Linked DNA regions of Homo sapiens: regions 1, 3, 4 and 5 are each linked to region 2. The links are contacts of gene promoters, found by promoter capture Hi-C in blood cells and fetal thymus (Javierre and others, 2016). All regions are on one chromosome and are shown on one strand. Each heading gives the region's core, a stretch centred on a gene start or on the middle of the fragment in contact. The rest is flanking DNA. Distances are from core to core; before and after follow the strand shown. Region 1 has its middle 190 kb from the start of PPP1R3B-DT. Region 2 holds the start of ERI1 (exoribonuclease 1). Region 3 has its middle 43 kb from the start of CLDN23. Region 4 has its middle 41 kb from the start of CLDN23. Region 5 has its middle 25 kb from the start of CLDN23.

Region 1 (2,700 bases), core at 84-2,583, 330 kb after region 2:
GCTCTAAGTGGCTAGAGAGCTTTAATAATTCAAGGCCTCTGATTAGACTGACAGTGTCTGTCCGAGGGAGATGTGCTGTTGAGTGTTTTCTGTGTTCCAGACAAATTCACTTACAGTTTCAATTAAGCCCATTTCTTGTATACTGGGGCCCAAAAGGCAAACGCACAAAACGGGCATGTGATTGTGCTGCCAAGACAAGGGTGAGCACAAGATAGTCTGCCTACCAGAGGCTGTAGGCTGGAGTCCAGGTTGAGACTTGAAGTCAAGATAAAAAAGCGTGCTTGAATATGGTCTTTCAGGGTGGAGACTGCCACATTCTTGTCACTATTGATCTTCAAATAAACAAAACTCCAATAAAATGTTATCATTTGGAATCAATTGGAATTGATTTGCTGGATGGCAGGCAAGGCAGAAAGGATTTGGGAGGGAGGAAAAGAAAGAGAGAAAATAAGCTGGGCTTCAGGACCCATGACAGGCTGCCACCAACACAGCGCTGTCACCCCATGTGGTCCTCCCAAGGGCTTCTCCCAAGGCTTGGATGTAAACAGAGGCCTCCCCCAGATGCCAGAAACTCCACAGAGCTTCAGGGCTCATCGAAAACCTCCCACATGGCCTTGGAGAGGTCAGCGGCCATTCTGGCAGTACAGACTATACAAATTCAAATGCCAATGCCTCCATTGCTAGCTGTGGGATCTTGGGCAAATCATATCATCTCTTAGCGTCTCATTTCTCTGGGCACGAATAGCCTGTACCTGACAGGATTGTGAAGTAAGAAGCTGACAGAGTGAAGAAGCACTTAGCACACAGCTGGCCTGCAGCAAGAGCTCAAAGCATCAGTCTTTATTCTTATGATTATGCGCCAAGCTTAGGGCACCCCAGAACTTACTTATTTCCACTCCCTCTTCAATGCAGATCCAAATTCACTCTTGGGTCCAATTTAACTTGGCAGTTACACATAAGACCTAATTCCCAAATTAAAGAGCTTTGGACAAAAGTCCACCTTTGATGGCAAGTGAGGAAGGAAGCCAGGCAGTGTTGACAAGTCCTTCATCACTGACACTTTGCTCAGCCTCAGTCAAGGCTAGCCCCGGGTAAAAACGAGAGACAGGCCAAATTTGCTGTCATTGAGGTGCACCTCTCTAGCGCCTACCATCCCAGGATTTATGAGCCCCACAAGGGCTGGGGCGTTGGCACAGCCTGTCACCCTGAATCAGTAGACAGTCTTCCAGTGAAGTCGCCCAGCAAGGAAGCATGTCTGCAAAAGGGAGTGAGAACCAGCTCCGCTGGGGACACGCGCAGTCTGGAGCTGGCAAGGTGGAGCCAGGGAGAAGCAGAGCAGAGGGGGCCGATCTCCAAGCTGGGCCGGGCCCCAGCAATGGAAAGGCATCTTGTATACTGTAGAGGGACACACAGATGTTAAGGGTGTTATCCTATGATTGTTACTACTTTTCATTGGAAAGCCAGTTGTTTAATATCAACAAAGTAGTCAACAAAACAAAGGAAACCAGAGAGATCTGGGTCTGTGGCTGACACATGTGAGTTCCATCACCCTTCAGAGCCCACTACAGAGCACACTACAGACGAATTCCATCACTCTTCAGAGCCCAGCTTCCCCGTCTGTGAAGTCCTCAGAGAGCAGGGTTGCTAAATGGACTGAAAGTGATAAGATAGATCTTGTGCCTGCCACAGAGAATCAGTCAAGGTTCCTTCTCCCTTCTCTCTGGTGAAGACACAGGGTACCTTTTTTTAAAAAAACATAAAAAATGTAACTTCAGAAACTAGAAAGCAAGATTAGCACCAGGGAAAGCTTCAGTGGTGAATTGTTTTCATAGCATCTCTACTCCCTTCAAAGACCATGCAGACAGGGAGTATCTACTTTGGTGTGGTCCAGCCTTTAGCAGCCATTGCTTGCAAAAGAAGTGGTGTTTGGGAATGCTTTCAATATGCAGAGATGTTTTGTTGGCCCGGGTCCTATCTCTATGGATTCCAACAGCAGGAGCTTGCAGATGTGTGTGGAAAGGGCAGAAAAGCTTGCCCAGGAGGCTGAGCTGGAGGAGCCTCAGCGCCAGGCTTTGTGTGTTGGCTGGAATGCTTCTTGCAGCCCTCAGTGGGCGGCAAAGAAAACCACCTACAGGCCGGAGAATGTGAGGGGTGTCCAAGTGCCATGAGAACATTCTACTCAAGTCCACTTGATAGAGCTGTTGCTCCTGATGGTTTATCCTGTGTCCCCTCTGCCTGGACTGCTTCCAAGCCTCCAGGCCAGCTGGTCTAGGAGCTGCTGAGAAGCTACGTGTGCGAATTTCCTACACCGTGGCAGCCAGTAGCCAGGCACCTGTCAGGCTTCGGGGTGGGAGTTCACGGAGGGGCATGGATTTATCCTTCCACCATCAATCCAACAGAGGGCCTCTTTCTGCCCTGACCTTATTCCCTTCTGCTTCCATTATACTAACACCACCACCTCATGGACAGACCTGCTCACTACAGGTAGTATTCATTTTATTTCATTTTTTTTCAGTTACTACTGTCCTCTGGGAAAATGAATCCTCCTCCTGACAAGCGCTTCAAACTTCTAGGCTGTGGGCATGCAAAGGAAAACACAGCCCAGGAAAAATATCCCTAGGGAATATGAGCATATTAGACCCAGCGTAGCAGACATTATGTGTATTCATAGACATATACAGGTTATTTATGTATGTATGT
Region 2 (2,731 bases), core at 228-2,727:
GTCTCCCTGAGCATTTGGGGATCAGAGTTTTTAAGGATAATTGGGTGGGTGAGAAGCCAGTGAGATGGGAGTGGTGACTGGTTGGGTAGGAGATGAAATCATAGGGAGTCGATGCTGTCCTCTTGCACTGAGTCAGTTCCTCCCGTGGGGGACACAAAATCAGATGAGCTAGTTTATCCAAGATCAGGTGAGTCAGTTTATCAATCTGGGAGGTGCCAGCTGATCCATCAAGTGCAGGGCCTGCAAAATATCTCAAGCACTGATCTTAGATTTTACAATAGTGATATTATCCCCAGGAGCAATTTGGAGAGGGTTAGAATCTTGTAGCCTTCAGCTGCATGAGTCCTAAATCATAATTTCTAATCTTTCGGCTAATTTACTAGTCCTACAAAAGCAGTCTAGTCTCAAGAAGAGGGTTTATTTTGAGAAAGGGCTATCACCTTTGTTTTAAACTATAAGCTATACACTAAGTTCCTCCCAGTGTTAGTTTGGCCTACGCCTAGGAATGAATAAGGATAGCCTGGAGGTTAAAAGCAAGATGGAGTTGGTTAGGTCTGATCTCTTTCACTGTCTCAATGATAATTTTGCAATGGCAGTTTCACATCTGAGGTTTCTATTGCGTGTTCCATGGTATTCAATAATCTCTTCACTCTGGTTGCTGGGAGCTCAAATGATTCCCAGTTCTGTGTGACCTCTCACCATTGTTTGGTGTACTGCTCCCCAGTAATTGTTCTTTCCTGGCCTTGTGGAGTTTCACGTTTTTTATTCAGTTAAAGATTCAAGGTACTCCTAAGCAGATTTCTGAAGCTCTTTTTCCATGTAATTCCCTCCTCTCCAGAATTCTGCCCTACAAATTCCAACCGACTTGGCCTACCCCAATTTCGTCAACTCCAATCTCTGTCTTTTCAACCCAGGAGATCCTAGGTTTCCATATGATTTCCTTTCATCGCACCACAGACTGGAAATCGCCTCTGGGCAAAAGGGCAGGATGATATACGGCTCCTTTTATTTCTTTTCTCTCAGGTAAAACAGTCCACAGCTGTCCGTTGTCCAATGTCTGAATAGGTGTCTCCTATATTTTGTTCCGTTTTCTAATTGTTTATAGTGGGACACTAAGTCCCGACCCATTTTCTTTTCTTGCCCAGAGTGGAAGTTTTAGGAAACTCCTTATGGAAAATGTGAATTGTTTTATTATTTTTTATGGTCGAAAACATCTTTCTCTATGATATCTTCCCACTCACCCTACTTTTTTCCTTCTCAGGAAACACTGACGGGAACACACGTGCCGGTGCTACCCTCCAGTGACTGGACTAGATCCTTGCGCAACTTCAACCCGCGCTAGCTCCGCCTACGGCCGGCCACGCCCCGTCTTCTCACCGGCGCGCCTCCCTCTTGTTCGTCCTCCCTCCCCCTGTGGACTGCGGCGCTGGCGTTCCGCGCACGCCGGCTCACTGCGCCTGCCCGGCGTGTGGACGCCACACGCTCCCGGAAGTGGGAGGTGGCCGCTGGAGTTTGTGTGGCCGCCGCCGCGGGAACGCGAGCCCGGTAATTTTTCAACGGAGAAAGGCGAGGCTTTCGGGCTCTGCAGAGTGAGAGTTAGCAAGTGTCCGGCTCCAGCAACTCTCCTCTGGCGTGACAGCCGGCATGGAGGATCCACAGAGTAAAGAGCCTGCCGGCGAGGCCGTGGCTCTCGCGCTGCTGGAGTCGCCGCGGCCGGAGGGCGGGGAGGAGCCGCCGCGTCCCAGTCCCGAGGTGAGGAGTCGACCCGCGCCTGGCTGTTGGCGCCAGCTGCCCCGTCCCCAAAGCGCCCTCGGCACCCCTTTCTTCTCAGGTGTCCCGCAGAAGGTGCAGCTGTGCGCCCTTGGACCCCAGCCTCTTCCTCGGTGCCCAGCTCCCTGGCTTTATCCTCGGGTGGGTGTCTTGGAGCCCCCTCAGGGCCGAATCACTCTCTGGGAGGGAGGAAATCGTCAAGACCAGTTCTGTCTACAGTGGGTTAACAGGTTCTAAGAGGGAGTTTTGCTTTAAACTTAATTCTGTGTTCACGGTTGCTGTTGTCACTCCATGTAGCCGTTATGGGTAGTTTGCAAGGCTTTATGTTTTTAAAATCTCACCATATACGCTAGGTATGTCACTTCATGCCTGTTTTTAAAAAAAGAAAAAATTTAAAAAGCACTCACCAGCATCCCTGTCTCTGTACCTGTTAAGTGGAGCTTCGTCTTAGCTGCTTTTGCTCATTAACTGGTGTCTCATATAACCATAGTATAAGATTGAATGAATCATTTTGACATCTCATCGGTTGAACTTAGTTACAGTGGCAAAGTTGTAGAACAGTCTTAAAACTTATTTAACGAATGTTAATTGTTGACTAGCGCTGCGGATTGTAAGTGATTGAATACTAAAATTGATCTTTTCCTAATAATAAACATGTTGAACACTTCGTAAAGCTTCATAAAGTGCGTATTTGCAAGAGGCCTCCTAACTCTTGCTCCTTCCGTCCACAGTCAGTTTCCATCTGGCAGCTAGAATGAGCTTTTCAATAACATGAATTTGGCTTATTCCCCTCCTGAGTCACTTCCATTTGCTGCTCTGCGGGGTCGGGTGCCTGCCTCCCTTGGTAATTGCATCTCACACAGTTTTTTCCCTTTTGTTCCCAGTGCCCCTCGCTGCCTTGTGTTCTTTGACATTGGAAAGAAGGTCTCGTTAAGGATCTCTGTATGTTCCTTTTGCCCTG
Region 3 (2,700 bases), core at 41-2,540, 340 kb before region 2:
ATGGGGGAAATAATTCAAAACTGACTCGAAACTGACACAGATGTTATCATTAGTAGACGAGTACATTGAGCAATTATAACCATATTCCAGATATTCAAAAAGTTAAGTAGAGAAAAATGATTTAACAAAAATACTCTAATTGAACTTCTGTAAATAAAAAACTACAATATCAAAAATTTAAAAAATTGATGGGATTAATAGTAGATTAGACATAGCAAAAAAATAGATCTGTAAATTTGAAACCATGGCAATGGAAACTATCCAAAATAAAAACACTGAGAGGAAAAACAATTTTTTTTTTCTTTTTTTGACATAGAATCTCACTCTGTTGCCCAGGCTGGAGTAGAGTGGTGCAATCTTGGCTCACTGCAACCTCCGGCTCCCAGGTTCAAGCAATTATCCTGCCACAGCCTCCTGAGTAGCTGAGATTACAGGTGTGTGCCATCACACCTGGCTAATTTTTTTGTGTGTTTTTTTAGTAGAGATGGCGTTTTGCCATGTTGACCAGGCTGGTCTTGAACTCCTGAGCTCATGTGATCCACCTGCCTCGGCCTCCCAAAATCTGGGATTACATGTGTGAGCCACCACGCTTGTCTGGAAAAAAAATTTTTAATTAAAAGAGGATCAGTGAATTCTGAGACAACTTCAACTGGCCTAATACACGTGCAGTGGAGTTGCCAGAGGAGAGGAGAGGCAACTGAACAAATATTTGAAGAAATGACAGTTGAAAACATTGCAAACTTAATTGAAACTAAAAACTCACAGATCCAAGAAGTTCAACAAACCCCCAAGCAAAAGAAGCATGAAACAAAACACTAAGACATATCATAATCAAATTGTTAAAGAAATCAATAATAGACACAAAATATTAGAGCAGCCAGAGGAAAATAATAAGATGTTACATAAAGAGGAAACAAAAATAAAGATGAGAATAGATTTTTTTAATAGAAAACAATGTAAGCCAACAGACATCTTCAAAACATTGAAAGATAAAAACTATCAAGCTAGAATTTTACACCAAGCAAGAATATCTCTCAGAAACAAAGATGAAATGAAGATGTTTTCAAACATAGAAAAACTGAAAGAATTCACTAGCAAATCCACACTGCAAGACATTTTAGAGTCTTTTAGGCAGAAGGAAGTAAGGAGCTTCACAAAAAAGGAACACCAAAAATTGTAACTATATGTGATTTTTCTTATTAAATCTATTTACAAGATAACTGAATATTTAAACAAAAATAAGAACAATGTAGTTAAACTTCATACGTGTAAGTAAAATATATTACAGTGCTAGCAGAGCAACCAGGAGGGGGAAATAGAAATATTCTATTCTGTGATTCTTTTTATTTTATTTTATTTTATTTTTTTGAGATGGAGTCTCGCTCTGTCACCCAGGCTGGAGTGCAGTGGTGCGATCTCGGCTCACTGTAAGCTCCGCCTCCTGGGTTCACGCCATTATCCTGCCTCAGCCTCCTGGGTAGCTGGGACTACAGGCACCTGCCACCATGCCTGGCTAAATTTTTCTATTTTTAGTAGAGACAGGGTTTCACCATGTTAGCCAGGATGGTCTCGATCTGCTGACCTCAGCTCTGTCACCCAGGCTGCAGTGCAGTAGCACGATCTCGGATCTGCAACTTCCACCTCCTGGGTTCAAGTAATTCTCCTGCCTCAGCCTCCCAAGTAGCAGGGATAACAGGTGCCCCCCACCATGCCCAGCTAATTTTTTTTTGTATTTTTAGTAGAGATGGGGTTTCACTGTGTTGCCCGGACTGGTCTCAAACTCCTGACCTCGTGATCCACCCACCTTGACCTCCTAAAGTGCAGGGATTACAAGCATGAGCCACCACACCCAGCCTCTATTGTATGATTCTTACACATAAAGTGGTAGGTCAGACAAAAGAAGACAGTGAAAAATTAGAATTATATGCTCTCCACTATAAACTATATACACTATATTTTACTACTAAAATGACAAAAAGATTTATAGTTAGTAAGCCAATAATAAAAAAAAAATTATTTCAAGGATCAGTTAATTCAAAAGATGGCAAAAATAGAAAAAAGTGAGTAAAGAACAGATAGGACATCTAGAAAACAAACAGCAAGATGGCAGATTTAAACCTAATCATATCAATAATCACATTAAATGTAAATGAGCTAAACAATCTTGATTAACTGCAGAAATGGTCAGACTGGATTGAAAATCTAGACCGAAATAAATACTGTCTATAAGACATGCTCTTCTTGCTCTCCTGGCCCCCACCCACACTGGCACCAGGGAAAGGCCATGTAAGCACATAGTGAGAAGGTGGCTGTTGGCAAGCCAGGAAGAGAGCCCTCACCAGAACCCAAACATGCTGGCACCCTGATCTCAGACTTTCAGCCTCCAGAACTGTGAAAAAATAAATTTCTGTTGTTAAGTCAAAAGAAGAAGAAGAAGAGGAGAAGGAAATGTTCTTTATATATTAAAACATGGGTAAAGTAAAATAATTTAAAAATTATTTTTAATGATATACCATACTAATACTAATCAAAAGAAAATTGGAGTGGCAAATTAGTAACAGTGGCACACAATAACAGAGCTTCAAACTACATAAAGCAAAAATTGTTAGAACTACAAAGAGAACAAAATAAATCCAAAATTATACTTGGAGATTTCAATAATTAGCTCTCTGATTGACAGAAGTAAAAAGAAAGTCATCA
Region 4 (2,700 bases), core at 119-2,618, 260 kb before region 2:
AATAACAGATGTTGGCAAGGTTGCAGAAAAAAAGGGAATGTTTATACACTGTTGGCAGGAATGTAAATTACTTCAGCCACTATGGAAAGCAGTTTGGAGATTTCTCAAAAAACTTGGAAATAGATCTACCATTCGACCCAGCAATCCCACTACTGCGTATATTTTCAAAGGAAAATAAATCGTTCTACCGAAAAGACACATGCACTCATATATTCATTGCAACACTATTCACAATAGCAACGACAAAGAATCATCCTAGATGCCCATCAACAGTGGATTGGATAAAGAAAATGTGATACATATACACCACGGAATACTACGCAGCCATAAAAACAGAATGAAGTTATATCCTTTGCAGCTAAGAGGATGCAGCTGGAGGCCATTATTCCAAGCAAATTAACACAGAAACAGAAAACCAAATAACCACATGTTCTCACTTGCAAGTGGGAGCTAAGCATTGGGTACTCATGGACATAAATATGGGAACAACAGATACTGTGAACCACTAGAGGAGAGAGGGCAGGCGGGCCTCAGGGGTTTAAAAACTACCTTTTAGGTACTATACTCATTACCTGGGTGATGGAATTGTTCATACCCCAAACCTCAGTGTCACACAATATACCTAGGTAACAAACCTGTACATGTACCTCTTGAATCTAAAATAAAAGTTGAAATTATTTAAGAACTAGAAATAAATTTCTGTTGCTTATAAGCTTAAAAAAATCCAGTACACCATTGATGGGCACCTAAGTTGATTTCATGTCTTTGCTATTGTAAACAGCACAGTGATGGACATACAAGTGCATGTCTCTTTTTGATAGAATGATTTCTATTTCTTTGGGTATATACCCAGTGATGGGTTTGCTGGGTCAAACGGTCGTTCTATTTTAAGTTCTTTGAGAAATCTCTAAACTGCTTTCTACAGTGGCTGATTTAATTTACATCCCCATCCATACCAACAGTGTGGAAGAGCTCCTTTTTCTCTGCGGCCTCAGCAACATCAGTTATTTTTTTACTATTTATTTATTTATTTACTTATTTATTTATTTTGAGAGGGATTCTTGCTCTATCACCCAGGCTGGAATGCAGTGGTATGATCTCGGCTCACCGCAGCCTCTGCCTCCCAGGTTCAAGCAATTCTCCTGCCTCAGCCTCCCGAGTAGCTGGGACTACAGGCACATGCCACCCTGCCCAGCTGATTTTTATATTTTCAGCAGAGATAGGGTTTCACCATGTTGGCCAGGCTGGTCTCAAATTTTTGTCCTCAAGTGATCCGCCCACCTCGGCCTCCCAAAGTGCTGGGACTACAGGCATGAGCCACCAGGCCCAGCCCTTTTGACTTTGTAATCATAGCTACTCTGGTGTCAGAAGGGAAGCAAGCACTAAAATGCTGCTGAGTGAACCAGAGACTGGGGTATATGGGCAAAGCAAGGACACAACACTCAGAGAAGGCTGAGAATCTGCACGCAGAAGGAGCCTGGGCCCTATTTCCTGGGTGGCCCCCTGGGAAAGCAGCAGGACCCAGCATCTCTCGCCCCTAAATGAAGGAGATGTCATAAGGGTCACACATAAATGGCAGTGTGGAGTCATTAAGGAGACAGCTCCAGATGCAGCCTGGCACAGGTGGCCATCAAGACGGGCACAGATGTGGTCAGAGGCCAGCAGCCCAGAGAGGCCTCGAGCTGGAGAAAGGAGGAAGCAGGGTTATCTGAAAGCCTTTCACTAGGAAACCAGATAAACTTTGAACATCTTCCAGGTGCCAATGGGCACAGACGATCAGAGGCCAGTGAGAATGAGGATTCAGCAAAAGATGCCAGGGTGGGCACACAAGCCCCAGGGGCCAGGCCCTTCACCCACTCCTTGGCACTAAACCCCCTTGAAACTCAGATGCAACCAGAGGAGGAAGGAGGGAGGTGAGAAACTCCTGGATTAACTGGAGAATACCTGAAGTGGCTAAGATTGCATTCCTATCACCAGTGCAACGTGGGCCCAAAATATAAAATCAGGGATAAAAAATAATTTCTAAAGCTTGAATTTGAGGTCTGAGACATTTGTATCTCCTAAGCAAATAAGCACTTAGCACAGCATCGGGCATGTAGTAAATGCTCCATAAACGTTAATAATGATCATTACTACCCACACAAGCTTAAATAACAAGTCATCGTGGCACGATGAGAAAGTAGCAAATGGCGAAAGGCTCAGAAGCACAGCAGCCATGGAAATGCACAGCCCCAGCCTCCTGCTGCAGGGAGCAAGTTGACTGACAGCCCCAGCCGCTGCTCCTGGCCCTGAGCTGCTCTCTGCCAAGTCCTCCATGACTGGAACTCCTCTATGGGCCCCTCGGCTCAGGAGCTCCTCTCCAGCCCGGCTGCAATGCCCGCAGAGCTGCACTGCTGCCTGGAACTCCTCGTCCCCCGCCCTCCCTCCTTCCTCCTCTCCCCTACAGAAGCCAGCCTGCATCTCTGTCTGATGCTCCTTTGCCTGGTCCTGCTTTCTCCCCTTCATCCTTCACAGGCATTCCCGCAGGAAATCTCCTGCACATCTAATCCTGTCTTGGTATCTTCTTATCAGAGGACTCAATTTCTTCAAGGGGCCTCATCCTATTATCCTCACTGTGGGCCAGAAGGACACATACAGCTTCCATGAGGAAGTCAGATTGGAGGATCAAAGGGAATTAGATGTGCTTGGCTAAGAGCCAGG
Region 5 (2,853 bases), core at 181-2,680, 330 kb before region 2:
CCCTATCACAAATGAAAAAAGAAAAAAAAGTAAATATAACCCCAGGTTCTGGAGGGCCATGGGGAAGTGCTTGAATGGTGTGAGGGACTCCTTTTGCAAAGCACAACAGGGAAAGTCTCTGAGAAAATAACATCTGAGCTCTAAATGATGAGAGAGGACCACGGTGTGACAACCTCAGGGAGCAAATTCCTAGAAGAGGGATGAGCCTCTGCAAAGGCTCTAAGGGAAGAAGAAGCACAGCATGTGAGAGAGACAGAAAAACCGTCACCGAGGCCAGATCACAGTGGGTGAGGAGGAAAATGAGAAAGAGGTATGTGCAGAACAAGTCGGGGGACCAGGTCATGTTGGACCGCAGGCCAGGCCAAAGAGTTGGTATTCCATTCTAAGGGTAGTAAGAGCTTTCGGGCTTTTCAAGCCTGATCTGACTTATGCTTTCAAGAGATAACTATAGCTTCTGTATGGCTACTGGGCCATCAAGGTACAAGATACTGGCAGGAACCCAGATGAACGGTGATGGTGGCTTGGATTACAGCTTTAGTCAGGGAGATGATAAAGAGTGGTTGGGTTCAAGATACATTTTGGAAGCTGCCCAGATAGAACCTGTTGATGCACTGGACATGAAAAGAAAAAGAAAGCGGTCAAGGGTGACTTCTAGGCCAGGTGCGGTGGCTCACGCCTGTAATTCCAGCACTTTGGGAGGCCAAGGCGGGCGGATTACCTGAGGTCAGGAGTTTAAGACCAGCCTGGTCAACATGACAAAACTCCATCTCTACTAAAAATACAAAAATTAGCCAGGTGTGATGGTGGGCGCCTGTAATCTCAGCTACTCGGGAAGCTGAGGCAGGAGAATCACTTGAACCCAGGAGATGAAGCTTGCAGTGAGCCGAGATCACACCATTGCACTCCAGCCTGGGCAACAAGAGTGAAACTCCATCACAAAAAAAAAAAAAAAAAAAAACAAGGGATGACTTCTAGTTTTTTGTCTGAGCAGCTAAATTAAAGAGAGGTCCATGCAGGAAGAAAAGGAAGACTAGGCAAGAAGTGGGTGGGATGAAGACAGGGGAGAAGTTCACATGGACAGTTTGCTTTGGATCATGTTAAGTTTGAGGTGCCTCTTAGAAATCCAAGTGGACAATTCCATATGCAATTCTGGAGCTCAGATGAGAGGCTAAGGGTCTTCAACATATGCATAAGATGACTTGATGGCCTTAGCAGCAGGGAGAGACAGAGGAGAAGATATCCCAGATCAAAATCCTGGAGCACCCCCACATTTAGAAATCCACCAAGGAGAAGGGAACTAAGGAGATAAGTAAAAGAGTCGTGTCAGTGGAGGAATTCCAGGCAACAGTGCAATCCTGGAAGCCTGGAGAAAACTACATTTCCAGAAAAGCAGAGTGTTCAGCTGTGTCAAATGCTGCTCTGAGGACAGGAAATTGACAGGAATTGACCATGAGATTTAACAGATATGGAGGTCATTGTGGAACTTGATGGGCTAGAGCCAAAGAACTAATTGGAGCAGGATGATGACAAGAGTCTGTGAGAATGGAGGCCTAATATCAAGTCTTTTGAGAGGACACGCTTTGTTCAGAAGCAGAGCCCTAGAGCAGTAGCGGAAAGGAGATGTGCGATCCACAGAAGAAATTTTAAAGATGGCACCACGCAGGATACTGTATTATCTCAATTTTTACAATCGCACCATGCTACAGGTATTATTGTCCTCATTTTATGCATGAGAAACCTGAAACAGAAAAGTGAATTCCTCACGCATCAAAATTTTTAAAACCTAAAGAACAGCAAATGCTATTATTACGTGAGACCTGAACTGTTTCCACAGGACCCTCATGTCTCCCGATAAAATACAACAGCAAAGGTCAAGTACTTTTGTTTTCCTGTTCAACAGAATGACGCAGTCGTATGCCAAGCAGCCTAAGCGGCCTTATTTGTATCTTTCTGTTACTTGTTGACTTCGAATCTTTGATTAAATACAGGAAGCTTTCTGTCACTTTTGAGTCACTGGTCAGTATCTGCCTTGATCAAGCCTGAATTTGGTTTCCAAGCTGGCAGTCTTTCTTCTAGCTATGCCTCTCAAATCTTTCACATGAAATGATGCAACAAGTTTTTAGGTCATCAAAAGGTATTTTGCTGTTATTGTTGCTTTAACTCTTAAAATTGGTAACCTTAGTAGTACCCAAGATTTCAAGACTTATCAAGGCTGACACAGTCTATAGAAAGTCCAATTTTGTCTTAAACCATGACAGATTACCCTTAAAAGGAATAAACTCAAGCATTTATTTTACTGAGATTAAAAGACATATATTTACTAAGTGTCTGCTCTATGCCAGGAATGGTGTTAGAGGGAGGCTGGTAGAAAACACAAAATAGGCTGGGCACGGTGGCTCATGCCTGTAATCCCAGCACTTTGGGAGGCTAAGGCAGGTGGATCACCTGAGGTCGGAAGTTTGAGACCAGCGTGGCCAACATGGCGAAACCCCATCTCTACTAAAAATACAAAAATTAGCCAGGCGTGGTGGTGCACACCTGTAGTCCCAGCTACTCAGGAGGCTGAAGCAGGAGAATCACTCGAACCCGGGAGGGAGAGGTTGCAGTGACCTGAGATCGCGCCACTGCACTCCAGCCTGGATGACAGCCCAAGACTCCGTCTCAAAAAAAAAAGAAAAAAGAAAAGAAAAGAAAACACAAAGTTGCCAGTGCCCTTGCAGTTGTGTGACAGAGCAACCACGGGAGACCCTGGGAAAACCAGCCCGGAGAAATCTGCCTAGGGGTGAATAGTAACCTATTTGGTGTGAGCTGAGAAAACTCTATATTTGAATTTATATGCAAAACAATCGATTC

What was found. Contacts are between HindIII fragments. The CHiCAGO score rates a contact against its expected background, and 5 or more counts as called.
Region 1: a fragment that was not itself captured here is called in contact with the fragment with the promoter of ERI1 in region 2 in 1 of 17 cell types (M2 macrophages); the score reaches 5.7 in M2 macrophages.
Region 3: a fragment that was not itself captured here is called in contact with the fragment with the promoter of ERI1 in region 2 in 2 of 17 cell types (total B cells and naive B cells); the score reaches 5.7 in total B cells.
Region 4: a contact is called between a fragment that was not itself captured here and the fragment with the promoter of ERI1 in region 2, in 16 of 17 cell types (total B cells, non-activated CD4 T cells, fetal thymus and 13 more). The highest score is 18.6, in total B cells.
Region 5: a contact is called between a fragment that was not itself captured here and the fragment with the promoter of ERI1 in region 2, in 3 of 17 cell types (naive B cells, total B cells and M0 macrophages). The highest score is 13.1, in naive B cells.

Annotation. Positions count from the first base shown.
Region 1 is chr8:9,336,016-9,338,715 of GRCh38, forward strand. No RefSeq gene overlaps it. Among named protein-coding and RNA genes, the nearest start is that of PPP1R3B-DT, 190 kb to the left of the region's middle. RefSeq lists an enhancer at 1,706-2,639. The HindIII fragment of the contact is 943 bases long and covers 863-1,805 here.
Region 2 is chr8:9,001,420-9,004,150 of GRCh38, forward strand. It overlaps ERI1 (exoribonuclease 1), which reads left to right and starts at 1,478. Exons shown (of 7, transcript NM_153332.4): 1 at 1,478-1,752. The coding sequence starts at 1,645. LOC105379227 (a long non-coding RNA gene) reads right to left here and starts at 1,323. Exons shown (of 3, transcript XR_002956680.2): 1 at 1,242-1,323. The HindIII fragment of the contact is 5,155 bases long and covers 1-2,442 here.
Region 3 is chr8:8,657,544-8,660,243 of GRCh38, forward strand. No RefSeq gene overlaps it. Among named protein-coding and RNA genes, the nearest start is that of CLDN23, 43 kb to the right of the region's middle. The HindIII fragment of the contact is 2,820 bases long and covers 1-2,700 here.
Region 4 is chr8:8,741,238-8,743,937 of GRCh38, forward strand. No RefSeq gene overlaps it. Among named protein-coding and RNA genes, the nearest start is that of CLDN23, 41 kb to the left of the region's middle. The HindIII fragment of the contact is 1,315 bases long and covers 712-2,026 here.
Region 5 is chr8:8,675,039-8,677,891 of GRCh38, forward strand. No RefSeq gene overlaps it. Among named protein-coding and RNA genes, the nearest start is that of CLDN23, 25 kb to the right of the region's middle. The HindIII fragment of the contact is 1,120 bases long and covers 871-1,990 here.